Linked DNA regions of Homo sapiens: all the other regions are linked to region 6. Evidence: promoter capture Hi-C in 16 types of primary human blood cells and fetal thymus (Javierre and others, 2016). All regions are on one chromosome and are shown on one strand. Each heading gives the region's core, a stretch centred on a gene start or on the middle of the fragment in contact. The rest is flanking DNA. Distances are from core to core; before and after follow the strand shown.

Region 1 (3,309 bases), core at 584-3,083, 230 kb before region 6:
GCAGTCTGCCTGTTTTCAGATCACACGCTGCATGCTGGGAGAACCACTATTCTCTTCAAAGCTGTCAGACAGGGACATTTAAGTCTGCAGAGGTTACTGCTGCCTTTTGTTTGTCTGTGCCATGCCCCCAGAGGTGGAGCCTACAGAGGCAGGCAGGCCTTTTTGAGCTGTGGTGGGCTCCACCCAGTTCGAGCTTCCTGGCTGCTTTGTTTACTTACTCAAGCCTCGGCAATGGTGGGCACACCTCCCCCAGCCTTACTGCCACCTTGCAGTTTGATCTCAGACTGCTGTGATAGCAATGAGTGAGGCTCTGTGGGCGTAGGACCGTCCAAACCATGTGTGGGATATAATCTCCTGGTGTGCGGTTTGTTAAGCCCGTTGGAAAAGTGCAGTATTAGGGTGGGAGTGACCCGATTTTCCAGGTGCCGTCTGTCACCCCTTTCTTTGACTAGGAAAGGGAATTCCCTGACCCCTTGTACTTCCTGGGTGAGGCCATGCCTCGCCCTGCTTTGGCTCATGCACGGTGCGCTGCACCCACTGTCCTGCACCCACTGTCCAGCACTACCCAGTGAGATGAACCCGGTACCTCAGTTGGAAATGCAGAAATCACCTGTCTTCTGCATTGCTCACGCTGTGAGCTGTAGACTGGAGCTGTTCCTATTCGGCCATCTTGGCTGCCCCTCTATTTCCTCCTGTGTCTTAAATTGCCATGAATTCACCTTGTGTTTTAAGTTGCCATGAATTCACCTTGTGTTTTGGATTGTTGTTGGATCCTGAGAGGGATGTTCTACTTTCCTTGGGTCATTAGAAGTCAAAGGGAGAATGAAAAACAGAATTTAAGGTGATTACGAGACATCCAGGAAAATATCCAGTCAGCAGAACCTAGGGAAACAAATCTAATTATGGGACATAAATAATAAGAGAAACCAAGCTAAGGAGAGGTAAGGAGGAGACAGAAAGACAAAAGTAGGATGAGGTGACTTAATGGGCATTAAAAGGAGGGAAACCTCAAGGGTGATGGGGGGATTGTGTAATGTCAAATGCTGCAGAGAGCACCAGAATGCAGAGAAAAGATCCCTGCCTCTAGAGGTTGGTATCCTTCAAGAATGCAGCTTCAGAAGAGTGGGCTAGGGGTGAGGAAGCAAAAGCTTTGGATGTGGCCATTCTAGTCGTCTGGTAGTAAAAGGTCAGTGATGATGTCCCCTTCCTTTCTTCCCACAGAGAGTGCTTTTAGATGGCCTCTGGGAAGGGGAAATTCAGGGGGTCAGACTTGCTCCCTCCCCATTTGAGAAGTCACTTCTTAGTCCATTCTTTTCATCAACTTGAAACTCAGGGTGAAATGTCTATCCAGTGACCTTGGACAGGGTAGCCTTCTCTCTGTTCTGCATCTAGCTGTGGCCCTGCTTCCTCATATCAAAGTATACACTGAACCCTGAGGGAGGCTAAATGATGAAAGCTTCAAGTAAGTGTCCTAAAGCTACACGGGGTTCAGGTGTTGGCTTGAGGGTGGGATGGGGTGTGGACAAGTGAGATCAGACATTGTTATTTTGGGACTAGTTAATGTGCTCTTTTGACCAACATGATGTGGGGCAAAGCTTCATGGTGTAGGTAAGAGGTTGGAAACTTAACTATTTTCAGTACTAGGTAGGTATCTTAAGTGAGTGAAGCAGGCAGGGCAGGCCAGGAGTGAAATGTGAAGTGCAAGCCCCATTTAGAATAGAACAGAGGCTACTCAGCACCAGCTAATTGTTGCCTCATAGGGATGTGGTCCCAGTATCCATAAGGCACAGAAGTAGGAAGGAGAGTCTAGATTATTCTAGGAGCTGAATAAAGAACAGTGTGGCTGGAATGCTGTGAAAGAAGGAGTAGAGATGTGAGTAGGGGTCTTGTAGGCCTTGTCAACACTTTGTGACCTCCTAGTGGGAATGACTGGGGGCTGGCAGAGTGGGAAGAGTATTTCTATTCCCTTTTATTACCTTTCCAGGATAGCCAATCACAGCCATCTTACCTTATTCAAAGTAGTTTAATGGGGCTACCATTTCCTTAATTCTACAATAAAAATATTAAAGAACAAGCTTACCTCCTGGGCAAAGAAAGTTTGTTTTTTGGTAGGAATTTTATAAGCATTGCATGTTTTCTTCCCTGCTTGCAAAATGCATGATTCATCTTTTAGGAATGGGGCATCTGGGTCTTAATGTATTTAACTTTAGAACAATAGATTAGGTTTTTGTTGATTAAATCCATTTGTTTCCCACAAGAAAACAAAAATGATTAGTTATATGGTGAGTACTGGGTAGTTTTCAGTTTTGTAAAGGAGATCTGTTCAAGAGTGTCCCATAACAATGATACCATTTACTGATATGAAAAAGCATAGTAGAAGAAAAGGCTTGATAAGAGAAATCAAGAGGTTTGATTTTTTTTTTTTGACAGAGTCTCACTCTGTTGCCCAGGCTGGAGTGCAGTGGCATGATCTTGGCTCACTGCAACCTCCGCCTCCTGGTTTCAAGTGATTCTCCTGCCTCAGCCTCCTGAGTACCTGGGATTACAGGCACCCAACATCACACCCGGCTAATTTTTGTATTTTTAGTAGAGACCGGGTTTCACCATGTTGGCCAGACTGGTCTCGAACTCCTGACTTCAAGTGAGCCACCTGCCTCGGCCTCCCAAAGTGCTGGGATTACAGGCATGAGCCACCACATCTGCCCAAGAGTTTTTATTTTTTAAAAAACTTTGATATATCTACCAGATATGCAAATGGTGATGCCAAGTAGGCAGTTAATGAGGTAAGCCAGGAGGTCAGGACTAAAGATGTGTTTGGGAACCATTAGCTTATAAAGGCTATTAAGGCAATAGGAATGGCTGACATCAGATAAGAAGAGTACTTAGATGGAGAAGTGAATGGGACCCACATGTGAGCCTTAGCTTCAGTCTTTACTGGTCCTGTGGAGGAGGCAGTGGATCTGCAAAGAGCCTGAGAAGCAGCTAGGAAGGAAGGAGTAAAACTCGGGGAATGTAGTGTCACAGAAGCCAAGAGAAGAGAGTGTGGTATTTATGATAAAAAGGGAGAAGGTTGAAGAGATTGAAAGAAATATAACATCAGGAATTCTATGTTTTAGTAGCTGGTCTATAAAGACAAGTGAGCTTAGCTTTCTTATGAGTTCTTTTCTTACTCACCTCTTAGATGTCTATAGATACGCCCTTAGTTTTTGTTTTGTTTGTGATCCTCCCCAGTGCAGTCCAGATTCAGGGTAGATTCTGGTAGATTTCTGACTAGATGGATTAGTTGTGCCTTCCATGACATATCCCCTA
Region 2 (3,258 bases), core at 621-3,120, 240 kb after region 6:
ACTGTGTGAACTACCTAGACACCGGACAAAGACAATTTGACACATTTCTTCAAGAGACTACATTCTACAAGGAAGGAGCACATGGAAAGGGACCCAACTGAGATGGGAGGGCAAACCCACTAACGGGGGTGAGGCCTGGGAACTGCTGGGGAAGGGACCAGCTGTAACTCAGAGCAGGCTGATTTTGATGGGAGAATGGGAGCTGGCTACAGGACAGGAAGGAAAGGGGAGAGTACACCCCAGGAAGAGAAGAAAGCACATGAGATGGCCTGAAGCAATAACAGAGCCCAGCCCAGCCCAGCCTGCCAAAAACTACAGGTCAGTCGCTTATTGTGGCTGGAACATATGTTGTAATACAAAGAAGTCTGGAAACCAAAGCTGAAAAATTAACAGAGGCCAGTGGATGAAGGGCCATGTATATAAGTCTAAAAGCCTAGAAATCATTCCAAAAGCCTGGCAGAGCGGGAAAAAGTGTAAAATTACAGGACTCAGGCCAGGCACAGTGGCTCATGCCGGTAATCCCAGCACTTTCGGAGGCCGAGGAGGGTGGATCACAAGATCAGGAGTTCAAGAACAGCCTGGTCAATATGGTGAAACCCCATCTCTACTAAAAATACAAAAATTAGCTGGGGTGTGGTGGTGCACACCTGTAATCCCAGCTACTGGGGAGGCTGAGGCAGGAGAAGCTCTTTAACCCAGGAGACGGAGGTTGCAGTGAGCCGACATCACGCCACCGCACTCCAACCTGGGCAACAGAGCAAGACTCCGTCTAAAAAAAAAAAAATTACAGGACTCAAGGTAAAATCCAGACAAACCCTGATGACAGTGCCTCCTTGAGCAGACACTTAACATCTCTGATCCTTTTTCTTCATCTTTAAGATGTCATTAATAACTTCTTTATACGCATGGAGATCAAATGAGATGACATATGTAAATGTGCTTTTTTTAACTGATGGATTGAAATAAACAATAAACCCAGTATCAATGAAAAAATATCACTATTGTGCCTACTGGAAGAATAGAATTGTGAGGATTCTATTCTCACAATATCCTCCTCTGCGACTAGAGGAGGGTGTACCCTGGACACAGCACTGATCACCCAGCTGCCTCTGGAGATCCCAAGGCCAAGGCCACAAGAGCAGCTGAGCAGGGACACAGTTCTTACTCTCTCACCCCATGAACCCCTCACAGCCACAGAAGCAGAGAATCAAGCCCTAGGAAATACCTGAGCTAACACCCTGACTGCTTCAGACCAGACCCCAGGAGAGGCCAGAAATCAGCACCCAGTCCACACCTCAAGTTGGCTGCCTAGCCTGGGTTCCCTGCCTCTCCAGAACTTCCCCTTTGACCCTTGACTTCAGAGCCCTGCCCAGCTCTACTCCCTCCAGGCCCTGCACAGCAGAGGGGAGCCCAGGAAACTGCAGCTCCTACTCTCAGAAGCCATTTACCTGCACTGCACCCACTGGTGGCCACAGAGAAGAATAACAGGAAGCAGAGTCTGGTCATTGTCCTCTAAGGAAAAACAAGATGCACAAGGTCACTGGCTGGCCCTTCCTTTGTCATCCTCTCGTTCTTACTTCCTAACCTTTCTGAGTCAGGAATCCTCAAATGGAAAGTGATGGGCTCATGAGCATTCTAAAACCTCCTGGAATATGCCCCACGGCTGTCCAACACTACAAATACCCAAGGGGCCATGGGCTCATTTCCCTGAAACTCTAAATCTCTAAAACTGAGACCTGAGCTGGCATCATTGCTCCCACACACATGGATCAAAAACATTTTTCTCACCAGCATGGACAGCATCCTTACAGATGCCAGGAGCTGATAGTTCCCTTCCTGTGGACACTCGGAGCTCCCCTGCAGAGGATCCTGATGAAGGGTGAAGTGCTGGTCCCTTTATGTGGAGAGCTGTGGAGAGCCAAACCACCTGAGCCCTGCCCAGCCCAACCCTGAGCAGCCTAGGCTGCTAGCCCCTCCCTCTGAAGCCCTTCCCTCTGAGGGTACCTGAGCCTGGGACCGTGGAAATGAGAAAGGACGTGCGACTGGCTGGAGGAGCAGGGAGCTGTGTTCCTGGCCACACAGGTGACTGTCGCCATCTGAGGAGGGGCATCCTGCTTTGCCAAGGCAGGCCATACAATGTAGCAGTATCTAATCAGATTCGTGGATAGGTCACAATCCTCCCCTGCGTTCTCCCTCTCCCACCTCCCCCAGATGCCCTGGCCCCCTAGACACAACTCTGTCAAGAAATCATCCTTTTAGACTGAGGTGACACCTCATGAAAAATAAATTAATTAATTAAGAATAATAATTGGCCAGGCACAGTGGCTCACACCTATAATCATAGCGCTTTGGGAGGCCGAGGTGGGCGGATTACCTGAGGTCAGGAGTTCAAGACCAGCCAACATGGTGCAACCCTGTCTCTACTAAAAATACAAAAATTTAGCTGGGTGCAGTGGCGTGCACCCGTAATCCCAGCTACTCTGGAGGCTGAGACAGGAGAACTGCTTGAACCCAGGAGGTGGAGGTTGCAGTGAGCCAAGACTGCTCCACTGCACTCCAGCCTGGGCAACAGAGCAAGACTTCACCTCAAAATAATAATAATAATAATAATAATAAATAAATGGGAAAAGAAGACATCATCCTTCCAATCTTTCCTCCAATTTCTCTATGAGGCCTTCCCTGACACCCCCATCACCAGACAAAGCTGATGGATCCTTCCTTTGTCCCACTATACACTGTCCAAACACTAATTATTGCATGTATCCTGCTGTAATTTTATTGTTTTATTAACTCTGTTTAGAAACAATTTGAAATTTATTAAATGTTGCAAAAATAACAATAATATAAAGCCACATATATGCCCTTTACCTAGATTCAACTATTGTTAATATTTCACCCCATTTGCTTTATCTTTCGTGTTCTCTCTCTCTCTCTCTATATATATATAGATATATGTATATAAAATACACCCACACACACAAAATTTTTTTCTGAACCATTTGAAGGTAAGGTACATACATCATGGGCTTTTACCTTTAAATAAATGCGTATGGGTTTTTTTTATTTTGTTTTGTTTTTTGACACAGAGCCTCACTCTGTCACCCAGGTTGGAGTGCAATGGCATGGTCTCAGCTTACTGCAACCCCCGCCTCCCAGGTTCAAGTGATTCTCCTGTCTCAGCCTCCCGAGTAACTGGGATTACAGGCACCCACCACCACGCCCAGCTAATTTTTGTATTTTTAGTAGATACGGGGTTTT
Region 3 (3,291 bases), core at 596-3,095, 150 kb before region 6:
TACTTTAAAATTCATATGGATGAAAAAGAGCCTGAATAGCCAAGACAGTCCTAAGCAAAAAGAACAAAACTGGAGGCATCACACTACCCAACTTCAAACTATACTACAAGGCCAAGGTAACCAAAACAGCACGGCACTGGTACAAAAACAGACACATAGACCAATGGAACAGAATAAAGAACTCAAAAATAAGACCACACACCAGCAATTATCAGATTTTCGACAAACCTGACAAAAACAATGGGAAAAGGATTCCCTATTTAAAAATGGTGCAGGGAGAACTGGCTAGCCACATGCAGAAAATTGAAACTGGACCACTCCCTTATACCTTAAACAAAAATTAATTCAAGGTGAATTAAAGACTTAAATGTAAAGCCCCAAAGTATAAAAACCCTATAAGAAAATCTGGGCAATACCATTCAGGACATAGGCACGGGCACAGATTTCATGATGAAAATGTCAAAAGCAATTGCAACAAAAGCAAAAATTGACAAATGGGATCTGATTAAACTAAAGAGCTTCTGCACAGCAAAAGAAACTATCATCAGAGTGAACAAACAACCTACAGAATGGGAGAAAATTTTTCCAGTCTATCCATCTGACAAAGGTCTAATATCCAGAGTCCACAAGGAACTTAAACAAACGTTTAAGGAAAAAACAAACAGAAAAAAAACCACACACAGCCCCATTAAAAACTGGGCAAAAACCATGAACAGACACTTCTCAAAAGAAGACATTCATGCAGCCAACAAACATGTGAAAAAAAGCTAAACATCACTGATCATTAGAAAAATGCAAATCAAAACCACAATGAGATACCATCTCCTGCCCGTCAGAATGGCAATTATTAATAAAGTCAAGAAACAACAGATGCTGGCAAGATTGCAGGGAAAAAGAAATGCTTTTACAATGTTGGTGGGAGTGTAAATTAGTTAATTCCAACCATTGTGGAAGACAGTGTGGCCATTCCTCAGAAACCTAGAGGCAGAAATACCATTTGTTCCAGCAAACCCATTATTGGGTGTATACCCCAAAGAATATAAATCATTCTATTATAAAGATACTTGCACATGTATGTTCATTGCAGCACTATTCACAATAGCTAAGATATGGAATCAACCCAAATGCCCATCAATGATAGATTGGATAAAGAAAATGTGGTACATATATGCCATGGAATACTATGCAGCCATAAAAAGGAACAAGATCATGTCCTTTTCAGGGACATGGATGGAGTTGGAAGCCATTACCCTCAGCAAACTAATGCAGGAACAGAAAACCGAACACCACATGTTCTCACTTATAAGTGGGAGATGAATGATGAGAACACATGGAGGGGAACAACACACACTGGGACCTGTTGGAGAGGGGTTGGGGGAGAGAGAGGATCAGGAAGGTTAGCTAATGGATGTTGGTCTTAATACCTAGATGATGGAATGATCTGTGCAGCAAACCACCATGGCACACATTTACCTATGTAACAAACTTTGACATCCTGCACATGTACCCCTGAACTTAAAATAAACATTGAAGAAAAAAAAGAAAATTATTGAGATATTTTATATATTTTTTTGGTGCTAAGATTTCAAGATCTGGTATGAATTTTACACTTACAGCACATCTCAATTTGGACTCACCACATTTCAGATGCTCAAGAGCTGCATGTGTCTAGAGGCTACCATAGTGAATAGGGCAGCACTAGGTCCGTACTTTCTCAAACTTTGGCACAGGTGGGAATAATCCAGAGATAACATTAAACACAGATTCCTGGACTTCATTCATTCACAAAGGTCAGGGGGAGGACCTGAACATTCGCATTTCCAAAAAGCTCCCAGTTGATGCTGATACTGCCAGTCTACAGACCACACTTGGGGTAGCTTGCAAAACAAAGCACGCACATCTCCCAGTGAATTGTGGCAATTATAATGATGATAACAAATAGTTATAATATTTTACCTTTCAAAAGCACTTTGCATTAACTACTAGAAATTCAAATTAAAACTAAATTGAGTTATCACTGCACACCCATCAGAATGGCCAAAATGAAAAATAATAACACCAAATGCTAGTGAGGATGTAGAGAAACTGGATCACTCATACATTCCTGGTGAGAATGGAAAGTTGAAAATAGTTTATCAGTTTCTTTTAAAGCTGTAAATGCCCTTATCATAAAATTACATTCTTGAGCATTTATCCCAGAGAAATAAAAACTTATTTCATGCAGAAATGTGTACACATATATTCACAGCAGCTTTATTTGTAATAGCCCCAAACTGGAAAGAACTAAAATGTTCCTCAAGAGGTGAATGGTTAAACAACCTAGTGCATCCATACCGTGGAATACTATCTAGCAATAAAAAGGTATAAACTATTAGTACACACAAGAGTTTGGATGAATCTCAGTGACATTACGCTAAGTGAAAAATACCCAACCTCAAAAAGATACGTCCTTCATTATTCCATCTACATAACATGTGTGAAATGACATAGTTGTAGATGTGAACAAACTGGTTGTTTTTCAGGGACTGGGGAAGGGAAAGATGGAGATGTGGCTATAAAGGGAGAGTATGAGGGAATCTTGTGATGGTTAATCTTGATTATGGTAGTGGTTACACAAAACTACCCATGTGATTAAATTGTACAGAGCTACACACATACTCACACATAAATGAATGCATGCATACGTGGTGAAACCTAAATAAGCTCTATAGATTGTGCTAATGTCAATTTCCTGTTTTTGATATTGTGCTATAGTTATGCAAGGTGTTAACACAGGGTGAAGGGTACATAGAACCTCCCTGTATATTTATTTGTACCTTCTTTGCATCTATCATGATCTCAAAATGAAAAGTTTTTTTAAAGCACTTTGCATACACTATCTCATTTGATCCTCATGATAACCCTGGGAAGTGAGTAGTATGATCATTGACATTATGTAAAAAAGAAAACCAAGGCCCAGGGGACCAACTACTGATGGAAGAATTACATAGCTAAAAACAGGCAAAGTCAGGACTGAAATAAGACTACATCCTCTTATAAGTATTGATGTATCAATATGTAAGTATTTATAGATATAAAAAGATTTAGGGGACCCAATTATCAGAAATGTAGATGTGTTTCAGATAGCAAACTTGCAAAGTAAAAATAAAACACAAGCTCTCCGTCTTCCCATGACTTACGATAGATTTGCAGGTTGTAGCGCTTGGTGGTGGTGTAGGGATCAGCCTGTGTATTTATGTCTGCTTTGTAGTCTCCTGCGTCTTCCATCCTCAGATCGCTAATGACCAGATT
Region 4 (3,265 bases), core at 115-2,614, 250 kb before region 6:
TACAGACACTATTTAATTTAATCAAAGTTGACTAAAAAATATTTAGCAACTGGTCCAGCGCAGTTGCTGGCCAATCACAATGATGCTGGCTACTGACTGTCAAACTGTGCCAGGGAGACTGCTGGAAGAGGGGGTGCAAAGCACACAGGGCCAGCCAGCCAGCCAGCAAGGAGTGGCCAGCGTTACTCTCAGAGCGCCCCACGACAAAGTTCCTGCTCTTTTTAGTTATTTGAACACTTCAGAAGAAAGCAGCCACACCAAGGATAGCTATTATTATTCTCAGAGGTAGTTACTCAGAAGTTATTTGGATAAGGGTAAACAAGGCTAAGAAGTTTCATTTTTAGGGTTCCGCTTTCAAAGGAACACCGTTTTGCTCCTTTCTCTTATTTGTCTCTTTCTCATGCTGCTGGTGGACCAATGTCAAAATCTTGTGCTCAAAACCTTACTTCCTGTCCTTGTAGTAGCAATTCCCAATGGAGAAACATTTAAAGCACTGAAAGCAACACTCAAAAGAAGGAAAGAAAGGATAGAAAGGGAGGCGTGGGGGAAGATCATGAGGAAGGAAGGAAAAAAGAAGGAAAGAGAAATAAAATCAAAGAAGGAAGAAACAGTTCAGACCAGTTTGCAGATTTAGAAGTCATTTCTGGCTCCCTAACAGTTTTCATCCTCAGAGTGCTTTCAGGCCACCAACATGTTCACGCAATACTGGGCCGTGATCATCATGACCCAGGAGGGGAGGTAAGAGTGAAAGGTGGAGTCGACATTTACTGTGGAAAAACCAAGGACAAACAGGAAGAATTAAAACAGGAAATGACTCATGAACAATGGAAGGGGTGCTCCCCTCACTTTTATTATCCCCCTCAGAGAGAAAGAGTTTCCACTAGCTTTGTTTTTGGGAGTTTTTCTTCAACAACAACTCTAACTCTAACCCTCCTAACCCCCTTCTTTGAGGGAGACTCAGTTTTTCCAAAGTTGCAACACACTTCTCTACCCTCTTCTTTCACCCCAGCTTCTCATGAGGCATCTTAACACTGAATATTGTGTTCAATATATGCTTTTGAAGAAAACAGAGGAAAACGCAAAGATTAGTAAATGGATTATTTGAAAAAAACCATGGCAGCTGTTTCAAATTTTAGGGATGTTGGTAAAACTCATCTGAGAAGTAGAAGGCTATTGGGTTTAGACAAACTCCTTAACGGGCCACTTTGTTCAGATCTAGGCCCCATAGCATGTTCTGAAAAGAGATATACTGTGAGTAAAAATAGTTTAAATTGGTCTGTGTACTGGAGTCTGGAGTGACAGGTGTGTTTCAGTTTTTTCCTGGAAGAGTGGGGGAGTTTTGTGCTGGTAAACGTTTAACAATCACCTCTCCAATAACAACAACAACCAAACAATACAAAGTACTCTAAAACTCTGATTTGTAGCACTTGTCCATTTCTGTGGTAGCATTTCCATCAAGTCACTGAGTTAGGAAAAGATGTGCACCATTATATAGTGTTTCCTCTATGTGTGTGCAGTAGATGTAAATCCTCTCAAGAGCATAGAATAGTAAAGGATAGTAAAATAATTAAGAAGTGATGCATTTGAGTACTTACTACCCTTTTAAAAATATATAATTTATTTAAATATCAGCATTTAGTTACTGACGGGATGCTTAACAGCTAACTTGCAGAAATCCTGAAATTTTAGCTATTGACTCATGTGACTAGATTTGGGGGTCTGGAACCTGGAGAAAAGGAGAGTGAGACCCAGTAGGCTCCCGGGAAGGGTACATGCTGGGGCCTAAGGAAAATAGTACCCAAAGAGAAAGTTCCTGTGCAGGGATGACCAAAGGAATTTGAGGACAGTGATTTAAATAACTTTTATTTATTTATTTGTTTGTTTATTTTTGAGATGGAATCTCACTCTGTTACCCAGGCTGGAGTGCAATGGCGCTATCTCGGATCTCTGCAGCCTCCACCTCCTGGATTCAAGTGATTCTCCTGCCTCAGCCTCCCGAGTAGCTGGGATTACAGGCACGTGCTACAATGCCTAGCTAATTTTTGTATTTTTAGTAGAGATGGGGGTCTCACCATGTTGGCCAGGCTGGTCTTGAACTCCTGACCTCAGGAGATCCACCTGCCTTGGCGTCCCAATGTGCTGGGATTACAGGCGTGAGCCACCACGCCCAGCCAATAACTCAATTTTAATCTGTTTCCTAGTCTGTCCTCTGCTGTAGTCTCCTGCCCTTATCCTCAAATCGTCAGGCTTGTGTTGGTGTTCTTTTGATGGCTGGGTCCATGCTTCTGATGAAGCAGCATGGAGAGAAACATGGTTCTAGAAAGTGAGGTGATAACAGGGACTGGAAATTATATGGGAGCAGCAACATGGATGAGAGGCTACCAGCAGAATATAAGCACTGCTCCCTTCCCACCCATCCAGCAATCCTCACAGATGGAGGTCTCCAACTGGGTGTGGGAAGGTGCGGGAGGTATTTTATTTAAATGTTGAAGGAAAGGGTGACCTCAGAAGGCTAGAAGACCTAGAAACATTTTGTTTAAATATTTAATATTAAAAATGGTTTAAATGACTAAGAGTGACCCAAAGAGATAAGGTTTGATTATTTCATTTGGATATTGGACAAATGAAGAGTGGTTCTAGTCACTTTTCCATCCCCATTCCTCCCTTGGCAACAGGGCTGGTATGGCAATATGTACAAAAACTGAGCCCAAAAGTTGTGCCTGTAAAATTATTACAGAAATTGCCCCGGACTTCCAGAAATTGTAGACATTCAGATTCCCTGGCCAGGAGAAACAGTAAGTAAATAAGAGCGTATCTGCTAAGGTGGCCACCACCATTCCTTTGTCCTAAAGCTCTGTAGGAGAAGTCCTTGGGTGGTCTTTCAGAGCCTACCAACTCTTATTCATATAGAATCCAGGTTATTGTATTCTCACACCACAGAAAAAAGGAAACAGCTGGTTACAAAGTACTGGCATTATAAGAGACAGACTCTATGACAAAAGAAGTAACTACTGTTGTCCTGATAGGGAAAACCTAATAAGATACAAACACAATTCATCAAGAAATGGTGAAATAAGTTATTGTCATCTATTTAAGAAGGGAGATGTTAATAAAACAGTCTAGGCAGATTTTCATAAAAACTGTTTACAACAAAAAGATGTTACTTGGAGAAGTAAACTTTAGCTATCTTAAAAAATGCATTAATGTAAATCATTTTGTTCCTTAAGGATGCTGGATACATGCAGATTTGCTATCTAATTTTTAC
Region 5 (3,131 bases), core at 210-2,709, 170 kb before region 6:
ACCAAGCACCTCTGCTGCCCTCCGGGTTTTTTCTGTTTCTGGCATTTGTCCTTCCTGTCTCTAGCTTCTCAGTCTCCTCTCAAGGTCCCAATCATCTCTCTACATCAGCTTTTCTTTTTTTCTTTGTCTGTCTTATACCCTCAATCCCTTGGTCTCTTGTGTCCACTCAGGGCCTGGGTTTTCAGACAGCACAGGGCTTTTATCATGTGGACTGTCTCCTTTGCTGTTTCATCTGTTTACTTCATTTTTGTTGCTCTCAAAAACCAAAACAAAGTAAAACACAAAATAGATGCATTATAAAATAATATTTATTGTGTCCTGCTGAAATGGAGCTTGTAGTCTCATTTCTTAGGCACTTACAAGGTAAAATTTATGAACCATACTTTATTAATGGGCATTTACAAATGCCTGAAATAAAAGGTGACTTGTAGAAGGGATAATATATCTTATTGCAAACATGACACCTAGCTTCTGGAATACGGTTAGTGGCATTTGCCACTAGTGAGCATAATTTCCATGTTCAAATGAATAATGAACTAATCAAAAAACCTTTTTTTGAGGAACTGAGGCACTCAGACACAAAACACAAAATTAGGCACTCAGACAAAAAGCAACTTATTAGCCAGTTGGAGAGAGAGCTAAGAAATACCATATCTATATAATTATCAGAGAATGTGATAAAAAGCTACTACTCTGTACTTGTGTGCCAAATGCTGTAAAAGTATAAATAGAGGGCAATATATTTCGCTTTGGACGGGAGGTTTTAGAAGGCCGCACAAGAGGGATATTCAGTCTGATGCTTGATGTAGACAGAAGGGAGAGAAGGGCATCCCAGACAACATGGGCAAAGGCATGGGAGGATTTGGTGGGTGTGTGGGCCCATGATAATTCTGTGTGGCTGGAGCCTTAGGGAGCAGGCAGGAGACAGCCTGGAAGGTCTGATGGGTCAGATTGCTAAGGAGTGTGGTTCCCCAGGAAAAACATTTTAGTGTGGAAGTGAAGTGATAAGATCCTCATTTTAGAAAGATTGCTCTTTATGTAATAGCAACCCAGGTAACACGTGATAAAGCAATGATCTGAGGGAGTGAGCATGTAGAGGGAAGGTGTATTAGAGAATTAGGCCAATTAAGGGCACATGCCTGAGAGGAGCCATATAGAGAAGTTGGAATTGACAGGACCTATTCTCTGACTAGATGTAGAGGGGATCTGGGGTGACAGGGAGAATGAAGGAGCCAAGGATGAAAAAGTTTTCTGCCTTGGGTAGCTGCTGATTGGTGAAGCAGTGAAGAATAGCAGTTCTGCACCCAGCCCCTGGAGTTGAATCCTGGCTTTTCTATTTACTAGGATGAGCTACTGTGATTCAGCCTTAAAGACTTCACCTTTCTGTGACCCAGTTTCCTACTTTGTAAAAGAGAGCATGGTTGTATCTTCTTCAGAAGGCAGATGAGATTTAATGTTTCTTATGGACTTTAAATGAGTAAATGTAAAACAGGACAGGGAATAGTACATAGTAGGCACTGGATAAATGTTAATTATTTTGATTATGGTGGATCATTAGCATAGGAAAAACACAAGGAAAGCAAGTTGGGAGGTCAGAAACAGACCTGTGAGTTAGATTTTGGACACGCTAAACTTGAGGTGACTTCTGACATCTATGCAGAGATGACCCATAAACTATTGGAAATACAAGTTGTAAATGAAAGAGTTGAGATTATGAGCATTTAAAAATTCTCTGATGAATAATCTATGTAATTATTTGCCTACAATAAGAACTTATAAGAAAAATATTTCTCATTTGCAAAGATTTGGCCATTTTCCAGTCTCAGAATTGATCCATCCCAAACCCAGAGACTTGTACAGGGCTGTTGAGAACTGTCTGGGCAATCAGCCAGCAACAGTTAATAATTATCATCCATTCCTTTATGAATTCCCAAAGTCTGCAAGTCTCTAGAGAATGTATTAGTCATTACTTTCCTCCCTCAAGTCAGAATTCAGGACTTTTTTAATGGTCCTTTGTCGAAATGTATTAACACTTTCATATGTTTTGAAAAATTACTGGACCCCTCACACTTGGATGGGGGCTTATTTAAGTCTAAACATGCACAGTTGTTTTTTTTAACCACTAAATTGTTCAGCACAATTCCCCAAATTCTTATCTCTTCTTTTGTTTCTGTTATTTTTGTGATTTTTAGTAGTGGAAATTTACAGTTTCTCTTATTTTATATTAACTCATCAGAATGTTTATGACCTGAAACCCCTGCCTGTCCAAAATGCATATAGAGAGCTCTATCCAACCTTCTTTAATTAAATGGGCATTTTCAGCAGGAAAGTTGAGTGGTTATCCAGATAGCAATGGAATTAATATATTAATATATTTACTTTGAGCTGCTTTTAGTACCTTAAAATATTACTATATGCAAATATTCATTTAGTAGATATTTGTGGTCCACCTATTATGTGTCAAGCAAAGTGCCAGGTGTGTGTACACCTAAGGCCAAGTACCAGGTAGGGAGAATCCACAGGAGGTAAAAAAGGGCCACATGGCAGAGTACAAGTGCATGGCCCTTGGTGACAAGAAGTCTTGAATTCAAATACTGTCTTCCCAGCTTTCCAGATTTGCCAAGGTATTCATATGTCAGCCTTAGTGTTAACTGGAAGAATTAATTTCTACTTTACAAGGCTGTCATGAGTATTGACAACAATGTATGAAGCATCTAGTTTAGCAGTTGGTATACAAAATAAGCCCTCAATGATTCTTACAGGCTCCCTATCTTCAAGGAGCTCTCCATTATTATTTATTATTATTATTATTATTATTATTATTTAGGTATATCCCCTGTTCTCTCAGTCTAACTGGGGAGGCAGATATAGCATCAGGTAAGTAGACTGTGGTATAATAACGAGGGGAACAAACATTGCTTATAACAAAATATATCTGAATAAGGAGGGATGAGAGTTAAAAGTTTGATATACAACATTAATTTTGCATAATACTAGCAGCATTTCTGTTGTAAGAAGCTTATTTCATGAATTTAGATTAGCATCTTCTGAAGATTTCAGGCCTAGAACAGCTTATAAAAAATTTCCCGAACTTTGCCATGCACAGGCACATTCCTGTATGAGCAACACCT
Region 6 (3,053 bases), core at 356-2,855:
CCTTAGGAGAATTTCTTAATCTCTCTGCAAGACAGTATTCTCATCTGAAAAATGTAGATAATAATAGCCACCTCACTATTTTCTAATGAAAGTTAAATGAAAAAGTATGCAAAAGGCCTAGCACAATGTCTGACACACAGTAAGTGCTTAATTTGTATTTTACTAACCCAGGTTATAGCCCGGGTGTTATAACCCAGGTTTACTAACCTCATCAAAACCAATATTATCCATTCAAAGGATAACATAATCAGGTGTGGTCTGATTGTTTCAAAGAAGAATAAATGACCAAGATGAAGCCTAGAAAAGAAGTCAGAGAAAGGTCAACTGTCAGGATGTTTTCAGTATGCCTAGAGAAAGTCCTAAAATATTCCAATTCTCATTGGCAACCCTGCTTTTCCCAATAGTTAGATGAATACTTCACATCAGCCCCCAATCCCAAGGTCATACCAATGTCCTATGCATTGAGTCAGGCCCACAGAACCTATATAGCCGTAGACTCACACAGTCATGAACCAAAGGACTCTACCTGAGAGGTAGAATATGTGAGAGACCGATCCTCCACACATTCTACCTCATCTCCCCAAAAGTTACAAACTATCATCATTTTATGCCACAGTGTGACTACCACATGTTTGTTGATTTTTACTGTTTTACTCAGAGTGGTGAGCATTAAAGCCCTTTAAATTAAAAAGACTTGAGTATTTACTTGGGGGAATAGCAAGAAAGTCAAAGGTTTCACTGCTGTTTCTCAGCTGGCATAAGAAGAGAGGTACTGGATGAAGAAAGAGGGTGAGGCAGCTCTAACAGGAGAAGGAAAGTTAGCTCAGCCCTTGGTCACACACCGGGGACCGAACAGGCTGTGGCAGAGGAATGGACCTTAACTCTTAGCAATCAGATGTGTTAAGGTTCCTTTGATGCTGAAGCACTTCCAGCCTCTTCTCAGACCCTCATTCAGAGACCCCAGACAGCAATCCTTTCCAAGCTTTTCTTCCTATAATTTTGATCTATCTTTTCTTTGGGTCAATGACAATATCATTTACCTTGGCTCAGGATGCAACACCTCACATATACAGAGGTCTCAAAGAATGCCTAAGGGAGTACAGTGTGTCTGAGCATAAAATGCAGCAGCTGTCAGTGTAGAGCTTCTTCTTATTCAAAATGAAAAAACAAACACTTTTCCACAACTTCATGGACCACCAACCACGGGACAAAATATGAGGAGCCTACTTCTCTTGCTCCCCAGGTTCCTGTTTTGATCACATCCCCGTGGGAAAGGAGATGAAGCTCCATTCATCAGTGCTAAGAAAGGCTCCCCAACCATGCCATGGCCATGCTATTGGAATGGAAATACCTGCTTTCCAGACACCAGATCTGGCTTCTAGGGTTGAACTACATCCCGTCTCCCCTTTCCCAACTGACCATGCCTTCAGTGCACAATCACAGATACACAGTTGGTGGAAAGTACCTTGAATGCTGGTCACCAGGAGTGACAGAGGCAGCAGTAGCAATTCCAGAGCCAGACACGAATCCCAACCTCTGGAGCACATGCTTCCTTCCAGAACTTCCCAGCAACGCAGGAGACAGTTGAGAGCCTGGCTAGAAAAAGGCCGGGGCTAAAAACGGAACTTACCAAACAGGGTTAGAGAGAAAAAAAAAAAAACCACTGAGATTTTCTCTCCACCCAGCACACTTGTGTGGGGCCCCAGAAACCAGAAACCGGAGGTCTTGTAAATTTTTTTATCTAAGAGCATCACGGAAACTGAGAACAATTTTGTTTGAAGGTACATGAGTGCTTTTTTGTAGGGGGAAGATTCATAGCTTCTACTGTACTCTCAGGGGGGCCAGTACTCAGAAAAGAATAAGGGACCCTGATAGAGAATGTCTGCTTTTCGTTCCCAGGCAGGAATCCCTCTGATTAATTCAGGGGCTAAGACATAGGAGCTTCCCAGTCAAGCCTGGGTAGGTGTCATTCAGAGCCTGAAGTCTGGGAAATCAGACCCACGTAGCCTTTGTGCTGCATATCTTACCCCCAGCACCACCCTCTGCTCTTCTTCCTTTATGATAATTCACTATTTGAAGTTTGACATCAGCCTATCCACTGAACATCAGAAAAAAAGTAAGATTACTTGGCCCAAAAGAATGGATTTCCCACCCTTGTAGTCTGTATTAGTCTGTTCTCACACTGCTAATAAAGACATACCCCAGACTGGGTAATTTATAAAGGAAAGAGAGGGGTTTTGTTTTGTTTTGTTTGTTTTGGTTTTTTTTTTTTTTGAGATGCAGTCTCACTCTGTAGCCCAGACTGGAGTGCAGCAGTGCAATCTCAGCTCACTGCAACCTCCACCTGACAGGTTCAAGCAACTCTCCTGCCTCAGCCTCCTACATAGCTGGGATTACAGGCAAGCACCACCATGCCCAGCTAATTTTTGTATTTTTAGTAGGGTTTCACCATGTTGGCCCGGCTGGTCTTGAACTCCTGACCTCAAGTGATCCACCTGCCTCAGCCTCCCAAAGTGCTGGGATTATAGGCATGGGCCTGTGCCTGGCCAGGAAAGTGGTTAAATTGACTTCTAGTTCAGCATGGCTTGGGAAGCCTCAGGAAACCTACAATCATGGTGCAAGGGGAAGCCAATACGTCCTTCTTCACACGGTGGCAGGAAAGAGAAGCACTGAGCAGCAATGGGGAAAGCCCCTTCCTTATGAAACCATCAGATCTAGTGAGAACTCACTATCACGAGAACAGCATGATGGTAACTGCTCGTATGATTAACTTACTTCCTACTGGGTTGCTCCCATGATATGTGGGGATTATGGGAACTACAATTCAAGATGAGATTTGGAAGGGAACACAGCCAAATCATATCATGTCTAGGAAATTTCAAGCTCATTCCTATTGAATGTAAATTAGTTATTTGCCCACCCAGGACCCACAGGCAAGCCACAGTTCCTGATATAACATATTTGTAATCACTTTTTAATTGGGGACATTTCTGATTCTCAACATGGAGATGAACAATAAAATGTCTGCTCTTCTCAGTCCTCAAACCTGAAGG
Region 7 (2,829 bases), core at 323-2,822, 220 kb after region 6:
CCTCACCTTCAAAATAGTCTAACCTGACCACCATTCACAATCCTACTGCTTTCATCCTCTTCTAAGCCACTAGCATCCCCTGGCTGGCTGCAAGTCTCCTCATTGGTCTCTCTGCTTCTGCTCTTGGCAGTCTTCAGTATATCCTCAACACAGCCAAAGTCATCCTGTTAAATCAGGCTACCCTCCTACTCAGACCTCTCTGAAGGCTTCTAGTCTTGCCCAGAAGGCCCACAATATCCTACACAATCTGCTCCCATCTTACCTTTGTGCTGTCATGACCTGCTGCTTTCCTCCATACTTATGCAGCTTCTGCTAGCCAAATCTCCCTGCAGCTCCCTGAACGCAGTGAAGATACTCCCATCTCAATACCTTGGCAGTTGCTATTCCCTCTGCCTGGTACTTTATGGCTCAATCCCTCACCTTCTTCAGATCCTTCCTCAATGTCACCTTCTCACTGAAGTCTTCTTTAAAGATCTATTAAAGTTGTAAACCACCACCACCCCCAATATATCTATGTCGCTACTCAACTTTCTTTTTCTCCATAGCACTTTTCAAACTTAACATTCTAGTCTGGGTGTGGTGGCTCATGCCTGTAATCCCAGCACTTTGGGAGGCTGAAGCGGGGGGATCATTTGAGCCCAGGAGTTCAAGAACAGCTGGGCAACATAAGGAGACCTGGTTTAAAAAAATAAAAATAAATAAATAAATAAAAACTTGACATTCTATTATTTATTTTTATAGCATATTGTATATTTCCTGGTACTAGGGTACAATCTCCAGAAAGGCAGAAATGTGTACCTGACTTGTTGCTATATCCCCAGCATCTAGAATATGTTCTGGCACATAATAGGCTCGCAATTAATGCTTTTAAAAGAAATAAACACACAAATTTGTGATTAGAAAACATTCATGAAGCCTGCTGTTAGTTCTAGAGCAGCCACTAAAAGGATAGAAAAAAAGCTTACAATTTTAAAACTAGTAGAGAGAAAAAAACAATGACACAATTGTGTCAGTTTCCTAGGGTTGCCATAACAAATTGTCACAACCTAGGTGGCTTTTTAAGAAATTACTCTATTTCAGAGGTGAGAAGTCCAAAATTAAGGCATCAGCAGGACTGTGCTCTGTCCAAAGACTCTGCAGGAGGATCTTCTCTTGCCTCATCCAGCTTCAGGTAGAAAGCAATCCTTGGGTTTTTTGTTTGTTTGCTTTTGGTTTTGATAGAAATGGAGTTTCACTGTATTTTTTGCCCAGGCTGGTCTCAAACTCCTGGGCTCAAGCAATCATCCCACCTCAGCCTCCCAAAGTACTGGGATTACAGGTATGAGGCACCATGCCTGGCCAATCCTTGGTATTTATTGATTTGTGGCCACATAACTCCCTTCTCTGCCTCCGTCTTCATACAGCTGCCTTCCATCTGTGTGTGTTTCTGCATCTGTGTCTCTTCTCTTCTTATAAGGATATTAGTTATATTGGAATTAGGGCCCACCCTAATCCACTATAACTGCATTTTAAATAGTTGCATCTGCAAAAATCTCATTTCCAAATAAGGTCACATTCACAGGTACCTTGGATTAGGACTTTAACATACCACTTTAGGGAACACAGTTCAACTCACAATAGCAATCATCAGTCTTGGTCTTGAATTATGTCTATATTCATACAGAATGCTCAGCAATGCTATGATCTGAACATTTATGTCCTCTCAAATTCATATGTAGGTTTGTTAATATCCTGTTTAGAATTGTTGCATATACAGTCATGAGGGTGGTTGGCTTATAATTATCTTTTCTTGTGATACTCTTGTGAGATTTTCATATCAAGGTTATGCTGGATACATTGTTAGAGGAGCAGCCCACAAGACCACCCTCACTTCTGACACCGATTGCAAGGTTGGGGTCCCCCAATATCCTCCTCCTCTCTGACATTAATTGTCAGCTTGGGGGGACCCCAAGACCACCCGTGAGTTTAATAATTCACAAGACAAACTCACAGTGCTCATGGAAAGTTACGGTTTATTGCAGCTAAGAATACAGGTTAAAATCAGCCAAGGGAAGGGGTACATAGGGCAGAGTTCAGGAAAGCTCTAAACACAGAACTCCCAGTTGTCCTTTCCATGAGTTGTGGACAGTGTTAATTTCCTGACATCCAGTGTGTGATAATACTCGCAGAATATTGTCAACCAGGGAAGCTTACTCAGGCCAGTTTATTAGGCTCAATCACATAAATCTGGTCAGCTGCCCTCAGTCTCCTAGCCCTTGCAAAGTTTGAGCTGATACCACTGTTCTGGTGTGGGGTTTTCATGAGGTTGCAGTCACATGGTGGCTGGGGTTGGGATAATCTTTAAGACTCTTTCTCTAACATGTCCGATCCCTGGGTGGGCAGACTGAAACAGCTACAGAAAGAAGCATATATGGCTTCTTGGGCATCTTTCTACTTCTATATGATCTTTTCACATGGTCTCTCCAGCATAGCAGCTTCAGGATAGTGGACTTCTCACTTAATAAATCAGGATCCGAAGGCACAAGTCCTAAGAAAGAGAAAGCCAGGAAGAAGCTGTATCATTTTTTAGGATGCAGTCTCAGAGGTCACACTTCTGCCATATTCTTTTCATGAAAACTTAGTCACTAAGCCCGCCCAAATTTGGTGGGGTGGGGGGAATTACCAAAGAATTGGCAGGCTATATGCAGAATATGCCATATCAGTGAATTTTCTATGTCAGAATGATCTTTCCAAGGTGAAAAACAATACTGGGTCAGGGTTGGTCTCTGGATTTTGAAAGCAACACATATAACATGTGAGCCTGCTGCTTTCATCTAGGCCAATTTTAAG

The links. Contacts are between HindIII fragments. The CHiCAGO score rates a contact against its expected background, and 5 or more counts as called.
Region 1: a fragment that was not itself captured here is called in contact with the fragment with the promoter of CD48 in region 6 in 3 of 17 cell types (naive CD8 T cells, total CD8 T cells and activated CD4 T cells); the score reaches 5.6 in naive CD8 T cells.
Region 2: the fragment with the promoter of ITLN2 here is called in contact with the fragment with the promoter of CD48 in region 6 in 13 of 17 cell types (total B cells, naive B cells, M2 macrophages and 10 more); the score reaches 12.9 in total B cells.
Region 3: a contact is called between a fragment that was not itself captured here and the fragment with the promoter of CD48 in region 6, in 2 of 17 cell types (naive CD8 T cells and non-activated CD4 T cells). The highest score is 5.6, in naive CD8 T cells.
Region 4: a fragment that was not itself captured here is called in contact with the fragment with the promoter of CD48 in region 6 in 2 of 17 cell types (activated CD4 T cells and non-activated CD4 T cells); the score reaches 6.2 in activated CD4 T cells.
Region 5: a contact is called between a fragment that was not itself captured here and the fragment with the promoter of CD48 in region 6, in 5 of 17 cell types (fetal thymus, total CD8 T cells, naive CD8 T cells and 2 more). The highest score is 8.4, in fetal thymus.
Region 7: a fragment that was not itself captured here is called in contact with the fragment with the promoter of CD48 in region 6 in 7 of 17 cell types (naive B cells, erythroblasts, endothelial precursors and 4 more); the score reaches 8.7 in naive B cells.

Annotation. Positions count from the first base shown.
Region 1 is chr1:160,480,769-160,484,077 of GRCh38, forward strand. No RefSeq gene overlaps it. Among named protein-coding and RNA genes, the nearest start is that of SLAMF6, 41 kb to the right of the region's middle. The HindIII fragment of the contact is 480 bases long and covers 1,594-2,073 here.
Region 2 is chr1:160,952,939-160,956,196 of GRCh38, forward strand. It overlaps ITLN2 (intelectin 2), which reads right to left and starts at 1,871. Exons shown (of 8, transcript NM_080878.3): 1 at 1,789-1,871; 2 at 1,449-1,512. The coding sequence starts at 1,803. The HindIII fragment of the contact is 24,751 bases long and covers 1-3,258 here.
Region 3 is chr1:160,562,225-160,565,515 of GRCh38, forward strand. It overlaps CD84 (CD84 molecule), which reads right to left. Exons shown (of 7, transcript NM_003874.4): 2 at 3,180-3,291. The region is part of intron 1 of CD84-AS1 (CD84 antisense RNA 1); the gene reads left to right. Among named protein-coding and RNA genes, the nearest start is that of CD84, 16 kb to the right of the region's middle. The HindIII fragment of the contact is 5,530 bases long and covers 1-3,291 here.
Region 4 is chr1:160,460,138-160,463,402 of GRCh38, forward strand. No RefSeq gene overlaps it. Among named protein-coding and RNA genes, the nearest start is that of VANGL2, 61 kb to the left of the region's middle. The HindIII fragment of the contact is 3,940 bases long and covers 1-3,265 here.
Region 5 is chr1:160,540,808-160,543,938 of GRCh38, forward strand. CD84 (CD84 molecule) reads right to left here. Exons shown (of 7, transcript NM_003874.4): 7 at 291-3,131. All of the region lies in intron 1 of CD84-AS1 (CD84 antisense RNA 1), which reads left to right. Among named protein-coding and RNA genes, the nearest start is that of CD84-AS1, 5.3 kb to the left of the region's middle. The HindIII fragment of the contact is 3,114 bases long and covers 1-3,016 here.
Region 6 is chr1:160,710,217-160,713,269 of GRCh38, forward strand. It overlaps CD48 (CD48 molecule), which reads right to left and starts at 1,606. Exons shown (of 4, transcript NM_001778.4): 1 at 1,466-1,606. The coding sequence starts at 1,547. RefSeq lists enhancers at 1,855-2,034, 2,575-2,634. The HindIII fragment of the contact is 2,140 bases long and covers 981-3,053 here.
Region 7 is chr1:160,929,651-160,932,479 of GRCh38, forward strand. LOC124904441 (a long non-coding RNA gene) reads right to left here. Exons shown (of 2, transcript XR_007066689.1): 2 at 1,996-2,527. It overlaps LOC101928372 (a long non-coding RNA gene), which reads left to right and starts at 2,815. Exons shown (of 6, transcript NR_110695.1): 1 at 2,815-2,829. The HindIII fragment of the contact is 1,228 bases long and covers 959-2,186 here.